2 separate regions of the Homo sapiens genome follow, and region 1 is linked to region 2. Evidence: promoter capture Hi-C in 16 types of primary human blood cells and fetal thymus (Javierre and others, 2016). All regions are on one chromosome and are shown on one strand. Each heading gives the region's core, a stretch centred on a gene start or on the middle of the fragment in contact. The rest is flanking DNA. Distances are from core to core; before and after follow the strand shown. Region 1 overlaps CA5BP1-CA5B (CA5BP1-CA5B readthrough). Region 2 holds the start of RAB9A (RAB9A, member RAS oncogene family).

The links. The method cuts DNA at HindIII sites, captures the fragments that hold promoters and counts their contacts. A CHiCAGO score of 5 or more calls a contact.
Region 1: a contact is called between a fragment that was not itself captured here and the fragment with the promoter of RAB9A in region 2, in 1 of 17 cell types (total CD8 T cells). The highest score is 6.6, in total CD8 T cells.

The regions. Positions count from the first base shown.
Region 1 is chrX:15,677,757-15,680,691 of GRCh38, reverse strand. The region is part of intron 1 of CA5BP1-CA5B (CA5BP1-CA5B readthrough); the gene reads right to left. It also overlaps the pseudogene CA5BP1. Among named protein-coding and RNA genes, the nearest start is that of CA5BP1-CA5B, 3.8 kb to the right of the region's middle. The HindIII fragment of the contact is 3,386 bases long and covers 1-2,935 here.
Region 2 is chrX:13,687,835-13,690,608 of GRCh38, reverse strand. It overlaps RAB9A (RAB9A, member RAS oncogene family), which reads right to left and starts at 1,481. Exons shown (of 3, transcript NM_004251.5): 1 at 1,321-1,481. RefSeq lists silencers at 1,172-1,331, 1,342-1,581 and an enhancer at 1,732-1,781. The HindIII fragment of the contact is 3,610 bases long and covers 1-2,332 here.

The DNA.
Region 1 (2,935 bases), core at 20-2,519, 2.0 Mb before region 2:
TCCATCTGTGACTGGTGAATCCCTACCCCCACTTCAGGTGACTGACACCAGCGTCACTTCCTCTAAGCTCCCCCGACCACAAGCTCACCAGGTCAGCCCAGAACTGCTTTGTGGTCACAGTGCTTATCACAGTCGAATTAATACCTCACCAGGAATGTACTTTATGACTGCATCCTCTCCAGTATCTAAGCCCCATGGTGGTAGGGACCGTGTCTGCCTTGGTCAGAGCTGCATCTCTTAGGGACACAGTGCCTCATTCAAAATGGGTGCTGGGAGTACTAGCCAACTGACCCGAGTAGGCTCCCTTGGTGACAAAGATGTTGGTCCGCATTTCAAGAACTAAGAACTGTGCCATGACTGCCAGCATGCTCTGAGACAGTACTAGGGGTCTTTCCTTTTCTCAAACGTCATCACCCATTTGTAGGGATGTCTATACTTTTAAAACACTTTTAAATATTTCTCCTTTGAGAGGAGGGTCTCATACCCCTATCTAAAAGATCCAAAGGACCCCCCAAATCCTGCCTGATCTAAAAAGAGGACCCTCCCTGAGTATGAACCTCATCTAGTCTCACAGGGCTGGGATTCTGCCAGTTAGCACTTTCATTTCAAAATGTATTGTCATTTCTTTTGCTCCAAGCACAGTGGTGGGTGCTATGATGCAAAGATGACCAAGACTTGAACTGTACCTTCCAGGTATGTAATTTCTCCCTTAGGAGCCTCCTGAAATGCACATAGTATGGGTAAGAGAAACACAGAGCAAACCAGTTTGCAGCAGGGTGTTTTTTGCCACCTCAGATTCTGCCTTCTCTTGCCAAAAGAGGGGCTCTCAGCAGTATGGCCATGGTGGGGTAGTGGTGGGGGTTGGGGTAGGTGGGAATGGGTGGCAAAAGGCACAAATGTAGAAGTTGAGGGGCACTAAAGACACATTTCCCTTACAAATCTGAACTTTATTTCTTTACACCATCTTTCCAAGAAGAATGTAAGATATAAAACCCACATCATGGTCCTCAGTGATGCTGAGAAAGGAGGCAAACGTGCTTTCATCCTCCCCTCTCTTTGTGCACATTCATGCTAGTAATTGGCTGTGAACTAGCTCTTCTCCTCTGTACTGCTGTCCTTGATCCTGCTCCATCTAAGCTAGAGAGAAGACTACACCTACGTGAAAGGAGCGAGAATCATCTCTATGTGCATTGTGAAATAAAGCACAGCAGGATGAGAAGCCAGTCTTTTGGCACAGTGCCATGCGCTTTGCTTTGCATATGCATCACTTTGCTAATGTGCGCTGAACTCAGGGAGCCAGAGATGTGCAGCCATTACATTAAAGGGGACTGGTAGGAAGTTAGTGAATCCTGTGGAGGTTCCTTACCTCTAGGCTTGACTCCCTACCGGAGGTCTTTAGGCCAATGTATTAGCTCGTAAGAAAGTACCATAGACTGGTTGGCTTAAAAATTTTTGTTGTCTCATGGTTCTGGAGGTTAGAAATCTGAGGTCCAAGTTCTCTGCAGGGTTGGTTCCTTCTGAGGGCAATGAGCGCTCTGTTCCAGGCCTTTCTACTTGGATGGTTAATTTTATGTGCCAACTTGGGTAGGTCATGGTACCCAGATGTTTGGTCAAATACCAGTTTAAATGTCACTGTGAATGTATTTTTTAGATAAGATTAACATTTAAATCAGTAGACTTGGAATAAAGATTATTACCCTTCATGTGGGTGGGCCCTACCCAATCCGTCGAAAGCCTTAAGTTGAAAAAGACAGGTCCCCTGAGGAAGAGGAAATTCTACCTCCAGACTGCCTTTGGACTGGAGCTGTGCCATGGCACCAGTTTGTGCTCACAATCCAGTCTGAATGTGTCCCCAAAGTTCACGTTTTGGAAACTTAATCTGCAACGCAAAAGTGTTGGGAGGTGATTAAATCATGAGGGCCCTCCCCTCATGAATGGATTAATGCCATTATTAGGGGGAGCTGGTTAGTTTCTGAGGTAGTGGGTTCCTGATATAAGGATAAATTTGGCTTCTTTCCCTTCCCTCCCTCCCTCCTTCTTCACCCCCAACCACTCCCACCCCTCACATGCACATGTTCTTGCCCTTCTGCCTTGTGCTATGGGATGATGCAAGAGAGAGCCCTCACTAGATGCTGAGCAGATGCTGGCACCATGCCCTTGGACTTCCCAGCCTCCAGAATCATGAGCCACATAAATTTCTGTTCATTATAAATTATCCAGTGTCAGGTATTCTGTTACAGCACAAAACTGAGTAAGACAGGCTGTAATATCAATTCTTCCCTGGTCTCCAGTCTGCTGGCCTGCACTGCAAATTTCACGAGCCTACATTCACGAGCCAATTTTTAAAAATAAATCTCTCTCTAAACACACACACACACACACACGCACAAGCACACACACAGGCACACCCACACATACATACATACACACACACATATATACACATACACACACACAATTGGTTTTGTTTCTCTGGAGAACACCTAATAAACCTTGCTTCTGGTAATTCCTTGGCTTGTGTCAGCATTAAATCCAATTTTCGTAAGCCATTCTCATCTTGTCTGTGTCCAAATTTCCCTTTTAATTAAGGACACCAGTTATATTGGACTAGTGGTCACCCTAATGACCATAATTACCTTTATACAGACCCAATCTCCATATGAGGTCACATTCTGAGGTACTGGGGCTTAAGACTTAAACGTATATGAGTTTGAGATGGGAGGGTGCAATTGAACTCGTAACAGCCAGTGACACCTAAAGTATGTCTGCGTTGCCTAAAAGGTGCTGACAATTCTCAAACCAAAGTTAAAATCACTTTTGTTTAGTTTTATCTGTGTTTGTGTAAATACAGTTTTTAGTGGGAGTGTGTATGTCAAAATGTCTAAGGAGATGAAAAATCACCTTGTTGAAGCCATGTAAAAAAGTCTGGCTCAGG
Region 2 (2,774 bases), core at 232-2,731:
AAAAGAGATGAGAGAGGTTGGAAAAGAAGTGATAGCACTAAGGTATTATTTCCCTTATCTCTAAAACCCGGCTTGGAGTCAAAGCCAATGATGTTCTACTTAGTGTTTGCCTATCTACTCTAACATTCCAAATAATAAACGAAAAAATATGCCCAGATCCCAAAAGTCTCCAGAAGAGAAACTTTGTAGTATAAACGAGGAATTTACCACAGCAGACACAAAAATACTAAAAGCACCAGACTGCCACAGCATTGTCTTAGATTTAGGAATCCAAATAACTACTAAAGTTCTAGAGAAGCAATCATGATAACTTCATAATCTTCTAAAGGAAAAACTAAAGGCTGGCTTCTTAAAAGTTCCTAACTGAATCGTTCCAGGTTTCTTTATCTCTAGTTTTGCTACACTGGACAGCTTCTGAGAGTACAGGCAATGTAGGGATTTTCCATTACAATGGTGCCAGAGACCGAAGGACAAACACATTTTTAAAGAAGCAATCAAATTCTGCCCATTGATTTTTATCAGGACGCTAAAATCCTATGAAAAGATTGTGGTCACGTGCCGATTTGGAAACTAGCAGAAAAGTTATTCCTCAAAAGAACTGTAGTCACGAGATGTGTCATCCCTTACCAAAAAAAAAAAAAAGCAATACGTCCACCAACTATTTATTAAGTTCAGCACTTAAATTTCTCATTTTGCCTTTTTACTTACCAAGTTGGAAGAAAAAAGGGAACGCGATTGTGAAACGTTAGCCAGCGTCTGAATCAGATAATGCCCCCAAAACGCCTGCAGCCTCTAAGATTGGCTTTACTTTCCGAATTCCTCACCCGAGTGGTCGTAAGACATCGAGCAAACACGTTCTGCTAGGTGGAACTTCAGAGGTCGCCAAAATCAAGTCATGGGAGCGCCTTTGTTTTCCCTACATTAATCATTCGGGTGTAGGATTTGGTTTGGGGTCTGTGGATGTGTGTCCCGGAGTGGTTGGGGGAAAGGCTGGCGTGTACGTGTGTTCCCAGGTGACCGGGTGTATTTCTCCGTGTGTATGTGCACGGGTGTCCGGGCTTTTGTATCTCCCTTTCTCCAGTGTTTGTGTGTGTTTCTGTGAGTCCCTCTCCCCAAGGGTGTGGGGACCGTCTTTCCTCCTGCGTCAGAGAGGAGGCAGGGAGACAACCAGCCGTCCTCTCTCCCGGGGCGGCCTTGTGACCCGCGCTAGCCCCGCGCGCACCGCACCCCGCCCCAGCTGCCCGAGGCCCGAGCCGCCCCCTCAGACCCCGACACCCGCGCACTCCGCCCGGTCCCGAAGGAGTCCCGAGTCCCGCTCACCTCGCGGCCACACGAAAGACGACCCGGGAGCTCTGGGCCGGCCCGTCTGGGCGCAATGAGGACAGAGAGAGGGTCGGGGACCTGCACAGCAGGAGGCAGCCGCGGTAGCGCAGCCAGGCTCCCGCTCCAGCTGCTCCCGTCCAGCGCGGAGGGAACAACATGGCGACGGGCCGGGGCGGGGCCAGGGAAAAAGCGGGGCGGGGCCTGGAAGGCGGGGTCCCGCGGCCGAGACCCTGGGGGACGGGCGCGGGGAAGGTGGAGCCGAGGCAGGCGGGGCCTGGATCGTGCTTTTCCTTCGGGTCGATTGCTCCTGAAGTGTCCTCCCGTCTGCGTTCGGGCGACAGCGAGTACGAAATAACTGTCATTTTGAAAAGTTTACGTAAAGTGGAAATAAACAGACCTCATGAGCACAGTCACAGGATGTCGTGATTACAATGATAAAAACGACTAGTCAAACGGACAAAGAACAAACAGGTGGATGAAAAATGAAAACAGTTGTGATACTGTGGAAAAACAAGAACTTTTTAAATGAAGCTATTAAAACTTTCCTTTAATCTTGTTAAAATACTGCCTCTGTCATCTCTGAATAGAAAGCGATGGTGCAAAAGGTGGTATTGGAGAAGCTCTCCTTAAGTCCTTGCTTTATGTATGAAGTTGAGTGCATGGATCCTATGATACAGAACCCTACAGGCGGGAGGGACTCATAGGGACATCTCAATACGTTTTGTACGGTGATTTAGTTTGTTTATCAGAAAACCAAATACTGCGTGTTCTCACTCATAAGTAGAAGCTAAATGATGAGAACTCATGGTCACATAGAGAGGAACAAGAGACACCAGGGCCCACTTGAGGGTTGAGGGTGTGAGGAGGAAAAGGAGCAGAAAAAAACTAGGTATCAAGTACTATGCTTATTACCTGGGTAACTAAATAATCCGTACACCAAGCCCTTGCAACAGGCAGTTTACCTACATGACAAACCTACACATGTACCCCTAAACCTAAAATAAAAGCTTTTTAAAAAAGATTTAGTCTGTTTATTTTCCAAGACAAAGATCTCACTTTTATGATGCTGGGGCTCACAACAAGTTAAATAATCTCCAGCTTTTTGGGGAGTCATTTTCAGGTAATGACTTTTCATTCAGCACTAGAAAGGTCATGTTTGAGAAAGTTCCTCACAAATTAAAAAGGCAATTTTAGAATGCTTCTGAAAACGACACATAAGCTTAAATAATTGTTTTCTCATAAACAGAAATCTATTTCTTATCTGCAGGTCATTTCCCCAAGGAAATATGTATAAACGTTTATAAAATACAAATCTGTTAAATTGGGGGGAAGAAGAAATATACACTATCTTGTTTTAAAACACATATTAAAAGTACACAGTAAAACATTATATATGAACACTAGAGTTAATTTTCCAATAGAAAAAAAAGTCATGTACATTGGGTCAAATT